Regions from separate parts of the Homo sapiens genome. Here regions 1, 2, 3, 5, 6 and 7 are each linked to region 4. Evidence: promoter capture Hi-C in 16 types of primary human blood cells and fetal thymus (Javierre and others, 2016). All regions are on one chromosome and are shown on one strand. Each heading gives the region's core, a stretch centred on a gene start or on the middle of the fragment in contact. The rest is flanking DNA. Distances are from core to core; before and after follow the strand shown. Region 1 has its middle 8.9 kb from the start of SOD1. Region 2 overlaps APP (amyloid beta precursor protein). Region 3 overlaps TIAM1 (TIAM Rac1 associated GEF 1). Region 4 holds the start of RWDD2B (RWD domain containing 2B). Region 5 overlaps LOC124905008 (a long non-coding RNA gene). Region 6 overlaps ADAMTS1 (ADAM metallopeptidase with thrombospondin type 1 motif 1). Region 7 overlaps TIAM1 (TIAM Rac1 associated GEF 1).

Region 1 (3,108 bases), core at 345-2,844, 2.6 Mb before region 4:
ACATATGTTAAAGTTTTATTTTTTTGGACGGAGTCTCGCTCTGTCACCCAGGCTGGAGTGCAGTGGCGCGATCTCGGCTCACTGCAAGCTCTGCCTCCCAGGTTCATGCCATTCTCCTGCCTCAGCCTCCCAAGTAGCTGGGATGCCCGCCACCACGCCCGGCTAATTTTTTGTATTTTTAATAGAGACTGGGTTTCACCATGTTAGCCAGGATGGTCTCGATCTCCTGACCTTGTGATCCGCCTGCCTCGGCCTTCCAAACTGCTGGGATTACAGGCATGAGCCACCACGCCCAGCCCTGAAGTTTTAACCCCCAATAACTTGGAAGGTGACCATGTTTGGAAATGGGGTTTTGCAGATGTAATTAGTTAAGATAAGGTCATACTGGAGTAGGATGAACCCCTAAGTCCAGCATGACTGGTGTCCTTACAAAAGAGGAAATTTGGACATAAGCACACAGGGAGAACACCCCCATGTGAATATAAAGGCAGAGATAGGTGTGGTGCTTCTACAAGCCAAAGAACACCAGATATTGTCAGCAAACCCCAAAAAGCTAGGGGAGAGGCATGGAGCAGATTCTTCACAGCCTCAGAAGGAACCAGCCTTGCTGATACCTTCATCTCTCCTAGCCTCTGGAACTATGAGACAATGTCTGTTATATAAGCCACTCAGTTTGTGGTAGTTGTTTTTCTGGTTTGTTTGTTTTTCTGAGACAGAGTCTCTCTCTGTCAGCCAGGCTGGAGTGCAATGGCACGATCTCGGCTCACTGCAACCTCCACCTCCCGAGTTCAAGCAATTCTCCTGCCTTAGCCTCCCAAGTAGCTGGGATTACAGGTACCTGCCACTACACCCGGCTCATTTTTTGTGTTTTCAGTAGAGACAGGGTTTTGCCATCATGGCCAGGCTGGTCTCAATCTCCTGACCTCAGGTGATCCACCTCCTCGGCTTCCCAAAGTGCTGAGATTACAGGTATGAGCCACCGCATCCAGCCGTGTGCATGGTAGTTTGTTACAACAGCCTTAGACAGGCATACAGGAGTATTTCCAGTTCTTGAATATTATGAATAATGCTGCTGTAAACACTGGCATTCATGCCTCTGAACACATATGGTTTTATTTCTCTTTGGTTTTTTAACTTTTGTTTAACTTTTTTAAAAAACTGCCAATTAGCTTTTCCAAGTGTCTACATCACTTTACATTTCCATCAGCAACGTATGATGGTTCCATTTTCTCCCCATCCTCACCAACACTTGGTATTGTTTTTCTTTTTTGATTACAGCCATTCTAATGAACGTATAGTAGTATTTCATTGTAACCGTAATTTGCATTTTTCTAATGACTAATGATGTTGAGCACCTTATCATAATGCTGATTAGCAATTTGTATATCTTCTTTAATGAAATGTCCACTTCAGTCTTTTTTCATCTTTATGGCCTTATAACACTGTCTGGGACCCCCAGGGCAGTGTTGAATAGAAGTAGCAAGAACTGACATTTTGCATTGTTCCTGACATTTCAGGGAAATGTTCAGTCTTTTACTGTTAAGTATGATGTTAACTGTGGGTGTTTCATAGATGCACTTTATCCAGGTTGAGGAAGTTCCCATCTATTCCTAGTTTGTTGAGAGTTTTTAACATGAAAGAGTGTTAGATTTTGTTAGAAGGTATTTCTGCATCTATTATTGAGAGGATCATGTAGTTTTTGTCCTTTGTTCTATCAGTATAGTATATTACACTGGTCAAGTTTCAGACGTTAACCAACCTTGAATTCCTATAATAAATCCCACTTGTTCAGAGTATATAATCCTTTATATATGTTGCAGAATTTGGTGTATTAATATTTTGTTAAGGGATATTATTCTGTAATTTTATTTTCTGGTAATAAAAATGTCTTTATTAACTGTTCTCACTGAATGAGTTGAGACTCATTGGACATATATCAATTAGGTCACATAGGTTAATAATGTTTTCTAACTCTTTAATATCCTTGCTGATTTATTGTCTAATTTTTTCATCAATTAGAATAGAATATTGATATCCTCAACTATTGTTGTTGAACTGTCCATATCTTCTTATATCTCTTTTAATTCTGCCAGTTTTGTTTCATGTTTTTGAGGCTTTATTAGCGATGTACATATTTATGACTTGTACATTCCTGACATATTGACTCTTTTATCATTACTAAATGTTCCTCGTTGTCTCCAGTAATATTTCTTGACTTAAAGTTTATGTTAGCTGATAGCCACATAACTAATGACTGCAACTCTCTTATGGTTACTTTTTTTTTTTTTTTTTTGAGACACGGTCTCACTCTGTCTCTGTCACCCAGGCTGTAGTGCAGTGGCCCAATTACGGCTCACTGCAGCCTTGATCTCTGAGGCTCAAGGATCTTCGCACCTCAGTCTCTGAGTAGCTGGGACTACAGGCACGTACCAACAGGCCCTAATTTTTGTATTTTTTGTAGAGATGGGGTTTTGCTGTATTGCCCAGGTTGATCTTAAACTCCTGAGCTCAAGCAGTCCTCCCACCTTGGCCTCCCAAAGTGCTAGGATTTTAGATGCATGTGCTGCCATGTCCAGCCTACTATTTTCATAGCATATCTTTTTCCATGTTTTTACTTTCCACCTATTTGTGTCTTTGAACCTAAGGTGTAACTCTTGCAGACTGCCTATAGTTAGATTTTGCCTTTTTTATCCAATCCAAATATCTTGTTTTTTATTGGAATGTTTAGACCATTCACATTTAATGTAATTAATAAGTTTGGATTTACATTTACCATTTGCTATTTGTTTTCTTTTGTTGTTGCTTAATTTACTTTTCTTTTTTTTTTTTATTTTTTATTATTTTAGAAGCAGGGTCTCATTCTATAGCCCAGGCTAAAGTGCAGTGACGTGATCACAGCTCACTGCAGCCTCGAACTCCTGGGCTCAAGAGATCTTCCCATCTTAGCCTCCCAAGTAGCTAGGACTACAGGCAAACACCACTACACCCCACTAATTTTTCTTTGTATAATTTTATAGAGATGGGGTCTCATTATGTTGCCCAGTCTGGTCTTGAATTCCTGAGCTCAAGCAATCTTCTCACCTCAGCCTCCCAAAATACTAGCATTGC
Region 2 (2,986 bases), core at 370-2,869, 2.9 Mb after region 4:
ATATTTAAATGATTTTTGCATCTAAACAAATGCATTCACTCTTTGCCTGGTGTGTACAATTTGAATGACACTCGTGCTCTGCCTGGAAGGAACAGACGTTTTTCATTATAAAATTCAGTCAAGCAGAAAAGTAGCAAAGGAAGCAGAAATTTCCATTTACATCTATGATTGAAGTTGTAGTGATAAAAGAGGATGACTAAGTTGAAGAGTAGCCTTGTTCTCATTCTGCTATCTGACATGGGATCTTGTCACTTTGGTAATAGTTTTTAAACTTACATTATTGAGGAAGGCTCTGATCAGAAGTCTCAAATTATACATGTTCTTCAACCTTAGATTTTTCTGGGTGTTTTGTTTCAAAAGTCTCAAATTATATATGTTCTTCAACCTTAGATTTTTCTGGGTGTTTTGTTTGGTTTTTTGGTTATCTATAGATAGATTTGAGTATCTCTTTTTTTCTTAAAATCCGTTACTTACTAGTAATAAAGACTTAAGTGGTAGCTTTACGCTCCATTATCACAGAGATTCACAGTACTTTTTAGTTTTTACTTGTGAGCCTCAGCAGGTGTAGACAGATACCTTAGTTGCCACTGATAACATCCAGTTGCCACTAGATCAAGAAATGGTTCAAAATTCTCCAGGGGCATTTTCTGCTAAAGAAGAGTTGGTGATCTTCCTTTTGGAAGCCTTAATGTACTTAAACCTTCTTCCTTAGAAGTCCAGAAATTCAATTATTTCAGCTCTCTGTGGAGTGATAAGTCCTGCCAAATTGATTTACAATAATGAAACTAAGCCTTGTTTACAAATCTAAGTGGTGATTTCTAAGTCCACAGAGGCGTGGTAACAGAGAGAGAGATTCTGATTTATCTGGGGGTCTATCCGTGTTTGAACAGATTGTGTGATTTTTGAAACATGATTCAAAAGGGATGTTGATAAATTCTAAAATACATTTTTATTGAAGAGCTTGATGAATCATGTATACTTACTTTATTTGTTATTCTATTAGATATTGTCTTCCTCATCCCTAGGTGGTGTTGCTAGTACAGTGACAGAATTCAAATCCTTCTTTTTCCTCTGCTCTAACAGAGCTTTGTGAACTCATAGCAATATTGTAATGCCTGGTAAAAGGTGGTGCCAGTTTCAAGTACTATATCCTAATTACTTCATGGCTAACTCTTGTTATTGTTAACAATATTGTTAACTCTTTTGTTAAATGCAGTGACATCTTTTTTCTTTCTCATTCTCTGTGTACTTTTTGCCCTAAATAGTTCTGCATCTTTTAAGATACAAGTTTGCTTTTTCTTGGAGGTTTTTATTTGGAAAATGCCTGAAATATATAGACCAACATTTGTTCCTCCAATGGTTAAATTACATTGTCTCCCAAAGTGAGGCATTTTAAGTCTGGACTATACCCAGGAGAATCTAAAAGAGGCAGTTAATAAGCTCTTGAAGAGCACAGTGGGGTGGTTGTGTATTTATTGAGTCTCACACTTAGGAGAGAAATAGGCTGGACCAAATGAGCCTGGGCATCAAAAGCATGTGGGTGGTCGTTGGTGATATGTGCAGTGATGAGTGTGTGTGCTGAGGGTCCTAGACCAGGCTGGCAGGGAAATGAACTGAAGGCAGTGAAGCCTCCCCTGATAACTGCAGAGAGTGCTGCAGCATCCAGGACCTCAGGATCATGATGAACAAGCTGTAGTGGATGGAAGGGAGAGGAACTATGGGAAGGATGAGTTTCTGGCCAGAAAGTGGTTTACTGGAGTGCTGTGTCTGAGTATTACATGATCTGAGGACCATGAGGTCCAGCTTTGGGAGTATGGAGAGTTTGAGTGGAGTAGAGTTATAGTCCCATGGTCTTCTGATTCACAGACATTCATGAGCGATAAGTATCTATTGAGAAAGTGGAAGCATGATTTTTATGACCTCCTCTTGTTGTGGGGAAATCGATCAACGGGGCCTATATTGGTTGGGTTCTACAACCAAATAGAATGTGTTCAGCAGGAGTCATGTTTTGGGCTCCTCACAATGTTCAGTGTTAGTTCTGTTCCTTTCTCTTGCTTCCACATAGGAAAGACTTTGACCCAATGAGGAATTAGTCATTGTCCTTTGGGTACACTTCCGGAATTTGATAATCAGTTGGGCACTTGATTCTAGTACATTTGCTAAAAGTAATTAATACCCTGCAATTGGAAGCATGCAGCAAGCGACTGGGAATGCTAAGTGAAAGGTCAGAATTGAAAGAGTGGAGGAGGCTGTTGACCCTTAGGCATGGATGATATGTCTGAGTGAGAAAGCAAGAAGAGTAGAAGACAGAGCCTTACTTTATAATCAGAATTATGAAAAGAGGAGCCAATGAGAGGGAAAGAATGATTGGCTTGAGATAGATTGGTGGAAACTGGAGAAGATTGAATTTAAAGAAGAAAAGTGGGCCAAGTTCAGTGGCCCATGCCTAGAATCCCAGCAAATTGGGAGGCTGAAGCTAGGAGAGTTGCTTGAGGCCAGGAGTTTGAGATCAGCTTGGGCAACGTGGCGAGACCCCTGTCTCTACAAAAAATAATTAAAAAAAAAATTAGCCAGGCATGTTGGCATGTGCCGGTAGTCCCGGCTACTTGGAAGGCTGAGACAGGAAGGTTGTCTGAGCCCAGGAGGCTGCAGTGAGCTATGATCACAGCACTGCACTCCAGCCTGGTTGACAGAGGGTATCCCCGTCTCTTTAAAAAAAAAAAAAAAAAGAGAATGTGGCAGAGTAGTCAGAGAACTGGAGGGCTGAGAAGAGACTGATGGCATTTGTTGTTCTTGACCTTGAAAGAAGAGTTGCAGATTGTTGGAGCAAGGCCAGATGGTAATAGGTTGGAAAGAACAAGTGAGGGGCGTGAGAGTGACAGTCTACAACCCCGTTAAGAAGTTATCTGTGAAAATGCCTCTTCCTGTCTTGATTATAGCCTCCCTCGCACATGGCTTTCTGAGTATGGTATGTGAAAACAGCATG
Region 3 (2,822 bases), core at 206-2,705, 2.1 Mb before region 4:
ATGTTTCTTTTTTCTCCCCCTGCCCTCCCTCTGCCTCGTAAAGGAGTGAAGTTGGTGTGTCTGCTGGTTTTCATTAACAGCTGATTTAAACTGTGTTCATGAAGAGCGTCTTGGTTTCTCCTGGAATTTTGCCTATACTCTGAATGTTAAAAGCTTGTTTTGAGTTGTTTTTTTTGTTTTTTTAAGATAGTCTCACTCTGTTGGCCAGGCTGGAGTACAGTGGTGTGATCATAGCTCACTGCAGCCTTTACTTCCTGCGCTCAAGTAATCCTCCCTCCTCAGCCTCCTGAGTAGCTGGGACCACAGGTGCATGCCACCATGCCCAGCCCCGTTTTCTGTTTTTTTTTGTAGAGAGGAGGTTTCACCATGTTGCCCATGCTGGTTTCGAACTCATGGGCTCAAGCGATCCTCCCACCTTGGCCTCCCAAAGTACTGGGACTATAGGCGTGAGAGCTACCACGCCCAGCCTTCTTGTGATTTTTAAGGAAGCCTAGTGATTTTCACGGCAATTCATTTATATATATATATATATGTATGTGTTGTTGACCTAATAAGAAAGCTACATTTAATTTTTTTAAAAGTTGAGGGTATGATCTTCATAATCTAATTAGAATCTAGCCAGAAGACTGCCAGGTCTGTTGTCTTTGTGTTATCACTTGTTCTGACACCTGGTCACATTTCCTATGCGAAAGCAGGGTGATCTGTTTAAGTATCTATATCTTAGTCTTTTAAATCAGGGGTTAGCAAACGACGGCTCTCAGGTCAAATCCAGCTCGCTGCCTGTTTTCGCAAATAAAGTTTGATGAGAACACAGCCACGCTCATTCCTTGACATATTGTCTATGCCTGCTTGGGTGCTACAGTTGAAGAAGTTGCAATGGAGACCGTATTTTAGTCCTCGAAGCCTAAAATATTGACAGAAAAGGTTGGCTTACTCCTGCATGAAATGGACCTTAACGACCTAAAGTCTCTAACGTTAGCCTTCGGGACAGGATCTGTTTGTTCTCTTCTAGATCCTTTTATAGACATTAACATATGCTTTATACTTTAAGTTCTAGGGTATATAAAAAATAAAACACATAAGCTAATGAGTTCTCTTTTCAATTCTTAGGATTTAAACTGTCTTATGGAGAGATACCTAAAGCCTCTTCAAAAAGAAACTTTTCTCACCCAGGATGAGGTATGCTGGAAATGGTTTCAACTTTGTGACCATCATACCGTGGTTTGACTTGTTGGTAAAGAGGAAAAATGGGGACATGCGTAACACTGAAAACATTTTAAATTTATTTAATTGTAACTAGCTGAAATTATTGCCTGCTAAGCTTTGGTGTGCTCATGAAGAGTAAAAAACTGCCCCGCTCTCTGGTAGTGGGATTATTCTCTTAATTGATAAGAATTGATAGAAAAACCTTGTAATCAGATATAAATAACGTTTAGGAAGACTAATGAGATATGAGGTGCATTAAATTCTGTTTTATTTCTAGCTTGACGTGCTTTTTGGAAATTTAACGGAAATGGTAGAGTTTCAAGTAGAATTCCTTAAAACTCTAGAAGATGGAGTGAGACTGGTACCTGATTTGGAAAAGCTTGAGAAGGTTGATCAATTTAAGGTAAATAGTGCAAAGCTGCCTCCAGCGTCAGGGCTATAGTGTGGCTCAAGTTGAATCCCCTGATCGTGTTGATGTCTTCATTGGAGGGCCACAGTGGGGTCTGTTCCTAAGGGTGTCTGAGAGGGAGGGGAATGGAGTGTGTCTTGCTGGTCTGGCTAAGGGAAGCCCAATGCCATCAATTTGCATTAAACTGGTGCAGCTGCTGGCTTTTACGTGAGAAGAAGTACCAACCTTGACCTTTTGTTTGGTTTATGTGGGGGCCTTTAATGCTTTAGCTATCAGTGAATTAGAATAGGCACTCCTGGCTGGGCATGGTGGCTCACGCCTGTAATCCCAGCACTTTGGGAGGCCAAGGCGGGCAGATCACCTGAGGTCAGGAGTTTGAGACCAGCCTGGCCAACGTGGCAAAATCCCATCTCTACAAAAAGTATAAAAATTAGCTGGGCATGGTGGTGGGCACCTGTAATTCCAGCTACTCAGGAGGCTGAGGCAGGAGAATCGCTTGAACCTGAGATGCAGAGGTTGCAGTGAGCCGAGATTGCAGCACTGCTCTCCAGTCTGGGGGACAAGAACGAGGCTCCGTCTTACAAAAAAAAAAAAAAAAAAAAAAAAAAGGCACTTCTGGTTACCCAGTAAACAAATTAATTTATCGTGTTCTGGGAAACTTTGCTTAATGGAAATGCTTATCATTATCCAGGGGAAAGACAATCTTCCAGCACACGGTGTCCTTGCAGCCTAATGAGGATTTATGACTAGTGCCTTAGCAAGGATGCTTATTTCCTCTCCCCTGCTTGGCTTTCTTTTATTGCAGATTTCCTGTGTTGCACCTCCAATTAACAAAGCACATTGCTTCATGTGTTGGCTTACGTGTCACCCTCATGTGCTTTAACAGATTAATTGGGGTATAATTGTGCAGTAGAATATGCTGCATATACTTAGTGTGGAATTTGATGAATTCACACACACACACCCCTATGAAACCATCGTCACAATCAGGACAATGCACATAATCATTTCTCCTGAAAGTCTTGTCCTGCCCTTTTGTGGTTTTTCTCTTCTGCCTCTTACTGCCCTCCCACTCTACCCCTGCTCCATGCTCTGCTCCCTGTTATGTTAAATATGTTTGCATTCTGGAATTTTATATTGGTGGAATCCCATACCAAGTACCCGTTTTTCTGGGGCTGCTTCCACTCAGCGTAGTTGTACTGAGATC
Region 4 (3,127 bases), core at 452-2,951:
TGGGGAGAACTGGTTGGGAACTAAGAAAGGGCATGAAAGAACTTTCTAGGGTGATGGTAACGTTCTATATGTTAATATGGCTTGAGTTCCATAGGCGTGTGCATTTAAAAACTGATGTGTATTTAAGGTATGCATTTCATTTTTACCTTAAAAAATCCTTAATTTGAACTCCAATGATGTGCATTAGAGGTACTTAGAAGCGTACTGTCTGCAGTTTACTTTTAAATGTATGAAAACAGATAGATTGATGAGGTATGTGACAAAGCTGGTAGAGTAAAATTCTGTACTCTCCAGGTCAGTGTTTTTCAACCTCAACACTATCAACATTTTGGACCAGCAAATTTGTTGTTGTCGGGGGATGTCCTGTTCATTGTAGGAAGTTGAGGAACATCCCTGTGCTCTACCTACCCCATGCCAATACCATCCTTCCAGTTGTGACAACCCAAAATGTCTTCAGACACTGCTAAATAGAGGGGAAATCCATCCTTCCCCTTCTCTTGAGGTCTGCTCCACTGTAAAATTCTCTCGACTTCGCTTTACACTTGAATTTTTTCATAATAAATGTTGGAGGAAAAAATAAATTATGACATTGAAAAACGCTCATGAAACACTATGCAGAAGACGTAGTTTATGAAGACCTACAATACATACTGTCGTATTTTTGTTTAAAAAAAAAAAGTGGAGGGGAGACCTAGCAGTGATATTTAGTATTGCTAAATGTCAATGTTTACAAATCTTATCTATGACATTTCTAAAATGAATATTATAAAGTGTATTGCATATAGTTGGATTGGGAAGAAAAACATTTCTAATTATTCTCCTGTCAGCATCTCCTTCAAACTACCCTTTTATTAACAGGGATAGATATGCATTCACACGGTTCCTCCCAGCTTGGTTAATGGGCAAGAACACCTAAGATAGCCAAGGCCACCATGCATCCAGGCTCACATCTCCCTAATTGCCCTCCTCCATGATTCAGGGACAAGGAGGATCACCATCGTGTGGGAAGATACTAGAAATGTAGAATTTGGAACCCCACCCCTACCTACGGAATCCTGATCTGCACTTCAACAGGATCCCCGAACTATTCCTAGGCGCGTTCGAATTTGAGGAACATTAACGGACCAATTCTTTGTCCCTGAAAAGTGCCCGTTATAGAGGCGGCCGCTGGGAAATGACAACGGGGTTGGCATGGAGAGGTATTAAGTAGAAAAACTCCGGCCGGGCACGGTGGCTCAGGCCTGTAATCCCAGCACTGTGGGAGGCCGAGGCCGGTGGATCACCTGAGGTCAGGAGTTCGAGACCAGCCTGGCCAACATGGTGAAACCCCATTTCTACTGAAAAATACAAAAATTATCTGGGCATGGTGGTGGGCGCCTGTAATCCCAGCTACTCGGGAGGCTGAGGCAGGAGAATCGCTTGAACCCAGGAGGCGGAGGCTGCAGTGAGCCGAGATCGCGCCACTGCACTCCAGCTTGAGAGACACAGCGAGACTCCGTCTCAAAAAAAAAAAAAAGGAAGAAAGAAAGAAGAAGAAGAGAACTCTGCGACTGAAAAGTACCTAGCAGGGACAACGCATTCCCTACGTCCTTCCAAGTGCAGACACCAACACCGGCGGACGCGGCTCCCAACAGGCGAGCCCCAGCTTCCGGTCCGCGGCCTTGGACGCGCATGCGCCGCATGCTTTTTTTTTTTTTTTCCGGTAGGTCGCCAGCTGAGGCGGTTTGTAAGTTTTGGGTCGCAGTATGCTAGAATTTTGAGGCTCCCTTCTGATGAAAATTGAGCTGTCCATGCAGCCATGGAACCCGGGTTACAGCAGTGAGGGGGCCACGGCTCAAGGTGAGTCTCGCCTCAGCTAGCGCCAGTGGTGACCGCCACGGGGGTTTCCCACGCTGCAGCGCCCAGTGCAACCCTTTGGGAACGTGCCCGGCATGGCGGCCCCGGTTCCCCTCACTGCATGCGCCCATCGGTCGGCTCGGTCCTCGGCGTTGCTTCCCGGCTTCTGCAGCCCTGCTCCAGCCGGGGACCTCGCCCCGGGGGCAATCAGGGTGCGAGGGCGGCTGCGTGCTGGGCTTTCTTCCTGAGAGCGTCTTGGCTTGGGTCGCGGGGTACCCTGCTCTGTTCTTCAAAAAAAAATCTGCAAGGAAAAGATATTATTCCACTCAGAAATCTCAAGTTTCAGTCTGCGTTCTCTTAAATATATTTTATTTTTTAAAAAAATAATAAAGGCGAGCTCTTACTATGTTACCCAGGCTGATCTTGAACTCCTGGGCTCAAGCAGTCCCCCTTCCTCTGCCTCCCAAAGTGCTGGGATTACAGGCGTGAGCAATCGCGCCCGGCCACAGTCTATTATCTTACAGCATTCGCTGAAATCTTGAATCATAAAATTATCTTGAGGGTTTTTTGGAAGGACTGAAATCTCTTAAGCGAAAATAATTTGGCAGATAAATGACCTGTGACATCACTCCCGTAGTTGTCCGTTCAAGAGTCCCTCCGTCCCGTTCTTCTTTGCTAATCCCATTTCATCTTCGATACCTCCAATTCAATAGCACCCTCTCCCAACTTTACTCACTCCCTGGGAGACTTTAAACAAATATATAGTTCCAAATAAGTGTTGACTCCCAAGATTATATATCTAGCTGAGTCTCTCGTAGACTTCAAAACTATACATCTAACTGCCTGCTAGACCTCTCTATTTAACAGGTGTCTTAGTAGGCACTTCATTACTTGTGTCTAAAACCAAGCTTCAGCTCCCCATGACCATCAACGTCTAAATAAATGGCAGATCCATACTTTCAGTACCTTAAAGCCCCGGAGTCATTCTTCCGTGTCTCATGTAATTCATCTGTAAATCCTGTTGCCTCTGTTCTCTGCATGTATCCAGAACCTGAAGCTCACCAACTTGACCACTATAATCCTATCAAAGCCACCATCATCTCTCCCTAGTTATTGCGGTGTCTATATCTGGTCACCCCACTTTTCCTTTCACTTTTCTCCATAGCAGCAAGTGTGGGGATCTTCATAAGTCAAACCTCTCTTGTAGCTCTTACATGTCAGTCGGGATAAAATTCAAAATTCTGGCCATGCTTTACTAGTCCCAACATAAACTGCCCCACATTTCCTTACT
Region 5 (2,865 bases), core at 208-2,707, 2.7 Mb before region 4:
TGGGAGGCCGAGGCAGGTGGATCACCTGAGGTCAGGAGTTCGAGACCAGCCTGGCCAACATGGTGAAACCCCATCTCTAGTAAAAATACAAAAATTAGCTGGGCATGGTGGCAGCTGCCTGTAATCCCAGCTACTTGAGAGGCTGAGGCAGGAGAATCGCTTGAACCCAGGAGGTTGCAGTGAGCCAAGATCGCACCACTGCCCTCCAGCCGGGTGACAAGAGCAAAACGCTATCTAAAAAAAAAAAAAAAAAAAATAGATAACAGGGAAGGAGAGAAGCACTTATCAAATAATTTGATGAGAGCAAGCTACCCCGACACCAAAACCATTACAAGAAAAGGAAAACAGAGACCACCAATACCACTCATGAATATAGAAGGAAATATTTTGACAGACAGAATCTTTGCAAATTGAACCCGGCAACATATAAAAAAAGTAATATCCCATAACCAAGTGGATTTTATTATAGGAATGCCAGGTTGGTTTCACATTCAAAAACCAATCACAGTAATTCATTAATATAATAGAATAGACAAAATCACATAATCATCCCAATGAATATAGCCATGGTATCTGACAACATTAACACCCATTTGTGATTTTTGTTGTTGTTGTTGTTGTTTTGTTTTTTGAGACGGAGTCTCACCCTGTTGCCCAGGCTGGAGTGCAATGGCGTGATCTCGGCTCCCTGCAACCTCTGCCTCCCAGGTTCAAGCAATTCTCCTGCCCCAGCCTCCCAAGTAGCTGGGATTACAGGTGCACAGGCGAGCGCCACCATGACCAGCTAATTTTTTGTATCTTTAATAGAGACGGGGGTTCACCACGTTGGCCAGGCTGGTCTCAAACTCCTGACCTCGTGATCCGCCCACCTCGGCCTCCCAGAGTGCTGGGATTACAGGCGTGAGCCACCACGCCTAGCCAGCATACTTCCTATTTTGTCTTGTTTTCAGTTGTGTGGGGTGTTTTTTTTTTTTTGAAATTAACAAGTTGATTTAAAAATTTATATAGAAATGCAAAGATTACAGCATAGTGAAAACAATTTTTAAAAGAACTATGTTGGAGACTTTAACTGATTTACTTGAATTACTAGAGAAATTAAGACAGTGGGCTATGTATATGCAAGAAAAGTATATAGATATATATAAAGGAACAGAGTACACATACGTGGAACTAGATCCACACATATGTGGTCAACTGATTTTCAACAAAGGAGGCAAAGTAATTCAATGGGGGAAATGATCTTTTTTTCCAACAAATAGTGCTGGAACAACTAGATATCCTAATGTAAAAAAATGAAGCTTGATATTTATCTTATCTCATACACATATATTAAATCAAAATGGATCACAGACTTAAACAAAAGTGCTAAGCTATAAAGAGTCAAGAAGAAAATAGAGGAGAACATTTCCATATCCTGGGGATAAGCAAAAATTTTTCAATATGACAGAAAAGCACAAACCATAAAAGAAAAAAGTATAAATTATATCCATCAAAATTAAAAACATCTGCTTTTCAAAAGAAAATGAAAAGGAAAGCCACAGACTGTGAGGAAATGTTTACAACACACATATCTGACAAAGGACTCATATCATTCAATAGCTTCCTATTGAAGCTTCCAAATGATCCGTTTTTTTAAAGGGCAAACGATTTGAACACTTTACTAAAGAAAGTATACATGGCCGGGTGCGGTGGCTCACGCCTGTAATCCCAGCACTTTGGGAGGCCGAGGTGGGGGGATCACAAGGTCAGGAGTTCAAGACCAGCCTGGCCAACATGGTGAAACTCTGTCTCTACTAAAAATACAAAAATAAGGTGGGCATGGTGGCATGTGCCTGTAATCCCAGCTATTCGGGAGGCTGAGGCAGGAGAATCACTGGAATCTGGGAGGCGGAGGTTGCAGTGAGCCGAGATCCAGCCACTGCACTCCAGCCTGGGTGACAGAGCAAGACCCCATCTCAAAAAAAAAAGGAAAAGAAAGTATACATATGGCCAATATACACATGGAAAATACTCAACATCAGGGCAAGGTGCCAGACTCTGGAGGAATAGTTCCTCGAGGAAGGAACTTATCTGTGTTTGGGCTTATCACAGTATTCCACACACCTAGCACAGTGCCTGTCCACAAGAGATGTACACATTTATTTTCTGAATGAATGAAACAGCAAATGTTGGACTGGCGTGGCCTAGTCCTAAAAGGTGACATTTCACTTCAGATGAGACTGGTTTTTAATACTTTCCATTTTGGAAAGAGAATCTTGGATTCCTAATCCTAAGTAAGATAGGAAGTGATGAAGAGAAATTGTTTTCCTTTATTAGTTACTCATATGCTCACTGTTGCAATCATAGCTAAGATGACATCCAGAACATTTTAGGTTTGCTGCATACTTACTTGTATGTTTACTTTTTTAAGGAGCTTACTCTTTCTGACAATAAAACTGGCCTGGTGTGGTGGCTCATGCCTGTAATCCCAGTACATTGAGAGGCCAAGGAGGGCGGATCACCTGAGGTCAGGAGTTCGAGACCAGCCTGACCAACATGGCAAAACCGCATCTCTACTAAAAATACAAAAAAAAAAAAAAAAAACCAGCCAGGCACGATGGCGGATGCCTATAATCTCAGCTGCTCAGGAGGCTGAGGCAGGAGAATCGCTTGAAACCAGGAGGTGGAGGTTGCAGTGAGCCGAGATCACCCCACTGCACTCCAGCCTGGGCAACAGAGTGAGACTCCTTCTCAAAAAAAAAAAAAAAAGTGATACATGCCTTCTGTGAGGAGTATGAAAAATGCTGAAAAATTAAAAAGAAAATGAAAATTCCCTAAAATCCCATTGCCCAACTGCCGTTGAGCTCTTCCTTCTTGGAGTTCCTG
Region 6 (3,102 bases), core at 1-2,500, 2.2 Mb after region 4:
AACCTTTAGAGAGGAACAATGTGAAGCACACAACGAGTTTTCAAAAGCTTCCTTTGGGAGTGGGCCTGCGGTGGAATGGATTCCCAAGTACGCTGGCGTCTCACCAAAGGACAGGTGCAAGCTCATCTGCCAAGCCAAAGGCATTGGCTACTTCTTCGTTTTGCAGCCCAAGGTAGTTCGTTTTTACCTTATTTTTACCTAAAAATCAAGGCCTGGGCTTGCTACCTTTTCAAACAATTTTTGTTATACTTTCTTTGCTTTCCATATTAACATATCTTCAATTTCAAATTTGAACTCCTTTTCTTTTACATTAATTGGCAACTGCCTGCTTTGAGTTTAGTGTTTTCAGTTATGAATGAAGCTTAAATCTAACACTTCACATGCTTGCAATTGCTCGCTATTACTCTTTTATATGCAAAGAAAAGCTTTTTGGACAGTCAAGCGCTCCTCTGTGCGACTAGGCTTCACATACAGCTCATAGTTAGATACATTTTATATTCACACAGTAACCAGTAGTTTTGGAAAATAGTCTATGCATGGTCCAAAATACTTGTTACTGGGTAACTAGCAGTAGCAGGTGCAAACAGAATAATAGAAGTGGTAGTCTGAGTATTGATTATTTTTATGTTTGAAAACACATATTGAACTAGGAAAAGCATCATTTCTTTTGCTGTTTTGCTAAGGGAATACATCTGGATCTGAGACAGAAAATGGAATTTAATGTGATTGAGATGATCGTGTGTCATTAGCACCATAGGCTATGAAAATATTCCCAAGTTGCAGATTCAATATTCAGCAAGTGATTTCTGAAGCACTTACTCTTGCCAGATACTAATTATTCTAGGCTCTGAAGATACAGCAGTAAACAAAGTGACAAACAGCTCTACTTTCATTGACCTTAGCTGGAGGAGACATAGGTCAATAGATAAATAATTTTTAAAAATATCTAATTTCTTCAGATGTCTATACGTAGTACTGAAAAATATGCCAAAGTGAAGGGTAAATGCATGAAATGCATAATGTGTAGAGGGTACTGTGTTTAATTAGCATGGTCAGGAAAGTAGAGAGAAAATGTTTACACTTATCATTGCAGCATCTCCTTCCTTTGCTTGTATGTAACACTAGACATGTGTCCTTTTTTCAGGTTGTAGATGGTACTCCATGTAGCCCAGATTCCACCTCTGTCTGTGTGCAAGGACAGTGTGTAAAAGCTGGTTGTGATCGCATCATAGACTCCAAAAAGAAGTTTGATAAATGTGGTGTTTGCGGGGGAAATGGATCTACTTGTAAAAAAATATCAGGATCAGTTACTAGTGCAAAGTAAGTTTTAAAACACCTATTTGCAGACCTTATAATTTAAATGGGCCTTTCAACAGGTCTGGGAAAAAAATATGTCTCATAAAAGATTAATGTGTTTTTAAGCTAAATAATCTAATTAGCCAATGAATCAGAGATTTATGCCTGTTTTTGTCACCTGCAGACCTGGATATCATGATATCATCACAATTCCAACTGGAGCCACCAACATCGAAGTGAAACAGCGGAACCAGAGGGGATCCAGGAACAATGGCAGCTTTCTTGCCATCAAAGCTGCTGATGGCACATATATTCTTAATGGTGACTACACTTTGTCCACCTTAGAGCAAGACATTATGTACAAAGGTGTTGTCTTGAGGTACAGCGGCTCCTCTGCGGCATTGGAAAGAATTCGCAGCTTTAGCCCTCTCAAAGAGCCCTTGACCATCCAGGTTCTTACTGTGGGCAATGCCCTTCGACCTAAAATTAAATACACCTACTTCGTAAAGAAGAAGAAGGAATCTTTCAATGCTATCCCCACTTTTTCAGCATGGGTCATTGAAGAGTGGGGCGAATGTTCTAAGTCATGTGAATTGGGTTGGCAGAGAAGACTGGTAGAATGCCGAGACATTAATGGACAGCCTGCTTCCGAGTGTGCAAAGGAAGTGAAGCCAGCCAGCACCAGACCTTGTGCAGACCATCCCTGCCCCCAGTGGCAGCTGGGGGAGTGGTCATCATGTTCTAAGACCTGTGGGAAGGGTTACAAAAAAAGAAGCTTGAAGTGTCTGTCCCATGATGGAGGGGTGTTATCTCATGAGAGCTGTGATCCTTTAAAGAAACCTAAACATTTCATAGACTTTTGCACAATGGCAGAATGCAGTTAAGTGGTTTAAGTGGTGTTAGCTTTGAGGGCAAGGCAAAGTGAGGAAGGGCTGGTGCAGGGAAAGCAAGAAGGCTGGAGGGATCCAGCGTATCTTGCCAGTAACCAGTGAGGTGTATCAGTAAGGTGGGATTATGGGGGTAGATAGAAAAGGAGTTGAATCATCAGAGTAAACTGCCAGTTGCAAATTTGATAGGATAGTTAGTGAGGATTATTAACCTCTGAGCAGTGATATAGCATAATAAAGCCCCGGGCATTATTATTATTATTTCTTTTGTTACATCTATTACAAGTTTAGAAAAAACAAAGCAATTGTCAAAAAAAGTTAGAACTATTACAACCCCTGTTTCCTGGTACTTATCAAATACTTAGTATCATGGGGGTTGGGAAATGAAAAGTAGGAGAAAAGTGAGATTTTACTAAGACCTGTTTTACTTTACCTCACTAACAATGGGGGGAGAAAGGAGTACAAATAGGATCTTTGACCAGCACTGTTTATGGCTGCTATGGTTTCAGAGAATGTTTATACATTATTTCTACCGAGAATTAAAACTTCAGATTGTTCAACATGAGAGAAAGGCTCAGCAACGTGAAATAACGCAAATGGCTTCCTCTTTCCTTTTTTGGACCATCTCAGTCTTTATTTGTGTAATTCATTTTGAGGAAAAAACAACTCCATGTATTTATTCAAGTGCATTAAAGTCTACAATGGAAAAAAAGCAGTGAAGCATTAGATGCTGGTAAAAGCTAGAGGAGACACAATGAGCTTAGTACCTCCAACTTCCTTTCTTTCCTACCATGTAACCCTGCTTTGGGAATATGGATGTAAAGAAGTAACTTGTGTCTCATGAAAATCAGTACAATCACACAAGGAGGATGAAACGCCGGAACAAAAATGAGGTGTGTAGAACAGGGTCCCACAGGTT
Region 7 (3,161 bases), core at 281-2,780, 2.2 Mb before region 4:
CAGGAGGCTGAGGCAGGAGAATTGCTTGAACCCGGGAGGTGGAGGTTGCAGTGAGCCGGGATCGCACCACTGCGCTCTAGCCTGGACAACAAGAGCGAAACTCTCTCTCAAAAAAAGAAAAAGAGAAAAAAGGTAACAATTTTAAAAATAATAAAAGTTCCAGCGTTCCAAGAGCTGCTTCTTGTTCAAAAAATGGTTATTCCTGCTGTGGTGTTGGAGAAAGCCAAGTGCGTGTGGCTAACAGCAGGCCTATGGCATGTTAAAGGCAATTAGGGCCAGCGCTGGAGTTGCAGAGTCAGATCCTTTGATAAACCTCAGGCGTGTCTGTCTGATGCCAAGTGGAAGCTTGTGCTCTGCAGTCCAGACCAGTGTCCCTCCTGCAGGAAGTAGATTAAGCAGCGTTTGTTGAACAGGAAAGGCCTCTGTGATAGCCGTGAAAGTCGAAGGCACCTTGCTTCAGAGAGAGGAATTGCCAAGTGCTGAGCACGGACAGCCGCTTGGTCTGCATGGGCAGGACGTGCCTCTGTGCAGTACCCGTGAAGTGTGAGGTTCTATTTTGGTCTGATGTTCCATGGAGATGGCCTGGAGCTCGATTCTGAAAACCGAAGACAGTCAGGCGGCAGGGAGGGGCGGCAAAGGAAGAGGAACTGCACAGATTTCTCTTCCCACAAACAAATATGGTCCAGGGCTTCAGATTCTCTGAAGTCTCACAGATACCCGGCAGCACATGGTCCTCTGTTTGTTTGTCGATAACATTTGGAGACACGCGCGCCTCGTAAACTGTCGGCCTGCTGTGCTTCTTGTCACACAGCACATGGCCTGCCTGCGTGGGCCCTGCTATGGCCGGGGGCGGGGTAACTTCCAGTGAGATTTGACTGATGACACCGTCAAATCCTGCGTGTGAAAAAACATGTTTCGGAGACTGAGATGCTCTATTTTGATATTTTTAAAGATTGTTAATGTATATTTGACTTTCACAACAAGCTAACAGGATTAGTAAGTTTTTATGGATTTTTAAATTTCTATAGGAAACAAAGACTGAGATTTTGTGACATTTGACTAAAAAGAAGTTACTATTTTAAATCTACAGTTTTAATGGAATTTTAAATTTCTCTTTATAGGAAACAAAAACTGAGATTTTGTGACATTTGATTAAAAAGGAGTTATTATTTGTCTACCAAGTTCAAATTGTAACATTCCTTTCTTTCTTTCTTTTCTTTTCTCTCTCTCTCTCTCTCTCTTTCTCTCGCTCTCTCTTTCTTTCTTGCTTTGTTTTTTAGCTTTGTTGGAGGGGTGAGTGTTTATGCTGATGTTATTATGGGTATTTATATGGAATTCTTAAAATCTTATAACAGTAAAATGACTGAAACGCAAAATAAAATTATATCCTAACAGTTGAGTTCCAGCTAAATATCTTTATTGACAGTGTTTAAGCTTTCTTTTGCCCCCACCCCCAAACGTTTTTTTTCCATCAGGGATTTAAACTCAGGCATTAAAAAGACCTTTTAAAAGTTTCGTGTTGTAATTGTTTCTCTTTGTCAATGTTTGAATTGGAGGGTCTGCTTAGAGCACATTGTTAAGACATCTCACGAGGCCAGAATTTTTTTTCTTCCTCCTTAAGCTTAAGTCCCACATGGACTTGAATGAAACCAAAGTAGATGTGTGTAATCTGGGTAAATGAAAGGTAAATCTCAATGTAAACTGCACTAATATGTTTGTACTTCCCCAAATCTCCTCGTTGTCTGTCCTGTTGATGGTGCGTCAGAGGTACTGATTGCAAACGTTTTTGCAGTCACAAAAATATTATTGTAGGTAACTTAAAAGGCAAAGCATTGATTTTACCTGTTCACAACAATCAATTCTATTTACAGGGTTACCGCAGTTTTTTTTTTTCTTACTTTCAAATAGAGTTGGGGTTTCTCTCTGTCACCCATGCTAGAGTGCAGTGTCACAATCATGGTTCACTGCAGCCTTGAACTCCTGGACTCAAGTGATCTCCTGCTCTAACCTCTCAAGAGTTTGGGATTACAGTTGTGAGCCACTGCGCCGGGCTCTATAGCAGCTTTTGATTTGGCCTATGATCCCTGTCTGAGAGAGTCCACAGTCCTGCTCTGGGCTTCTTCATTCCCTGAGACTTTGTCTCTCTAGACCGAGCCCTCTTCCTCTCCCCCGGTCCCCTGCTGCATGCCTGGCAGTGTGCTCAGTACTGGGATGTGGATGGGCATCCTGCTTCTCCAGCCACGACTGAGCCTTATCTTCAGCTTTCTTCTCTCTCTGATTGGTAGCAGAGCTGTCGTGCTTTGTTTCCTGGTAAGTAGGTGGGGACAGGAATGTCCAGAACAAAGAGGATAATTCCTCCAATTTCTGTCATTAGGGGAAAGCCGCTCACCTACTACTATTGTGAGTAGCACAGGGGAAGCTAGAGTAGGAAATTGCAAAACTCTGTTTGTATGGGATTAAAAAAAAAACAAACAAACTTGACCATGTTGTTGTCTACACTTCTTAAGCTGGGAGTGTTTAGAGAAGGCCCTCAAGTATGGGAGTGAGAACAATGCCCTTTCCCACTTGAATTCCCTCTTCCTGCCATGCTGGTGTCTCTCCTCAGCTTCCTTGAAGCGTACCACTGTCACCTCCTGCTTTCTGGCTTTCTGGTATCATGAAATTCCCCCTCACCACTTATTGGTTATCTACTACCACGTAATAGACCACTCTGAAACAACTGTTTTACTTGCTCACTGTTCTGTGGCTCAGCAGTTTGGGCCAGACTCAGCTGGTTGGTTGTTCTGCTAACCTTCCCTGGAGTCACTCATGTGACTCTGTGATCCAGTGGTCTGACTGGGGCTGGAGGGTTTAAGATGGCCTTACTCACTCCCACGTATGGTGACTAAACAGCTGGGCCTCCTCTCCTTGGGGTCTCTCATGGGAGGTTAGCTTGAGATTTCTTTGTATGGTGGGCTCAGAGTTCCCAGCAGGGCAAGACCAGAGACTGCAAAGTCACTTGAGGCCTTGGATCACAATTAACATATTATCAAAGCAAATCACAACACCAGCCCAAATTCATGGAGTGGCGAAATAGACATAAAAGTCTGCGCTTAAAGAGATGAAAGAAATAATCACTGTCATCTTTGCAAATGATCTGCTACAAACTGCATTGCCCATTT

Evidence for each region. The method cuts DNA at HindIII sites, captures the fragments that hold promoters and counts their contacts. A CHiCAGO score of 5 or more calls a contact.
Region 1: a fragment that was not itself captured here is called in contact with the fragment with the promoter of RWDD2B in region 4 in 1 of 17 cell types (naive CD8 T cells); the score reaches 7.5 in naive CD8 T cells.
Region 2: a fragment that was not itself captured here is called in contact with the fragment with the promoter of RWDD2B in region 4 in 2 of 17 cell types (non-activated CD4 T cells and total CD4 T cells); the score reaches 10.3 in non-activated CD4 T cells.
Region 3: a fragment that was not itself captured here is called in contact with the fragment with the promoter of RWDD2B in region 4 in 1 of 17 cell types (non-activated CD4 T cells); the score reaches 6.1 in non-activated CD4 T cells.
Region 5: a fragment that was not itself captured here is called in contact with the fragment with the promoter of RWDD2B in region 4 in 1 of 17 cell types (non-activated CD4 T cells); the score reaches 5.9 in non-activated CD4 T cells.
Region 6: a fragment that was not itself captured here is called in contact with the fragment with the promoter of RWDD2B in region 4 in 1 of 17 cell types (fetal thymus); the score reaches 8.2 in fetal thymus.
Region 7: a contact is called between a fragment that was not itself captured here and the fragment with the promoter of RWDD2B in region 4, in 1 of 17 cell types (non-activated CD4 T cells). The highest score is 5.5, in non-activated CD4 T cells.

The regions. Positions count from the first base shown.
Region 1 is chr21:31,649,260-31,652,367 of GRCh38, reverse strand. No RefSeq gene overlaps it. Among named protein-coding and RNA genes, the nearest start is that of SOD1, 8.9 kb to the left of the region's middle. The HindIII fragment of the contact is 5,366 bases long and covers 1-3,108 here.
Region 2 is chr21:26,068,107-26,071,092 of GRCh38, reverse strand. The region is part of intron 3 of APP (amyloid beta precursor protein); the gene reads left to right. Among named protein-coding and RNA genes, the nearest start is that of APP, 100 kb to the left of the region's middle. The HindIII fragment of the contact is 3,912 bases long and covers 1-2,986 here.
Region 3 is chr21:31,151,423-31,154,244 of GRCh38, reverse strand. TIAM1 (TIAM Rac1 associated GEF 1) reads left to right here. Exons shown (of 28, transcript NM_001353694.2): 18 at 1,111-1,179; 19 at 1,484-1,609. Among named protein-coding and RNA genes, the nearest start is that of KRTAP19-8, 110 kb to the right of the region's middle. The HindIII fragment of the contact is 264 bases long and covers 1,324-1,587 here.
Region 4 is chr21:29,017,923-29,021,049 of GRCh38, reverse strand. It overlaps RWDD2B (RWD domain containing 2B), which reads left to right and starts at 1,701. Exons shown (of 5, transcript NM_016940.3): 1 at 1,701-1,839. The coding sequence starts at 1,773. LOC124905005 (a long non-coding RNA gene) reads right to left here. Exons shown (of 2, transcript XR_007067836.1): 1 at 2,803-3,127; 2 at 1-2,137. RefSeq lists an enhancer at 1,611-1,860. The HindIII fragment of the contact is 4,408 bases long and covers 1-2,746 here.
Region 5 is chr21:31,737,280-31,740,144 of GRCh38, reverse strand. The region is part of intron 1 of LOC124905008 (a long non-coding RNA gene); the gene reads right to left. Among named protein-coding and RNA genes, the nearest start is that of SCAF4, 6.6 kb to the right of the region's middle. The HindIII fragment of the contact is 314 bases long and covers 1,301-1,614 here.
Region 6 is chr21:26,836,657-26,839,758 of GRCh38, reverse strand. ADAMTS1 (ADAM metallopeptidase with thrombospondin type 1 motif 1) reads left to right here. Exons shown (of 9, transcript NM_006988.5): 7 at 1-172; 8 at 1,145-1,320; 9 at 1,481-3,102. The coding sequence ends at 2,180. Among named protein-coding and RNA genes, the nearest start is that of ADAMTS1, 7.2 kb to the left of the region's middle. The HindIII fragment of the contact is 1,646 bases long and covers 428-2,073 here.
Region 7 is chr21:31,171,613-31,174,773 of GRCh38, reverse strand. The region is part of intron 15 of TIAM1 (TIAM Rac1 associated GEF 1); the gene reads left to right. Among named protein-coding and RNA genes, the nearest start is that of KRTAP19-8, 130 kb to the right of the region's middle. The HindIII fragment of the contact is 187 bases long and covers 1,437-1,623 here.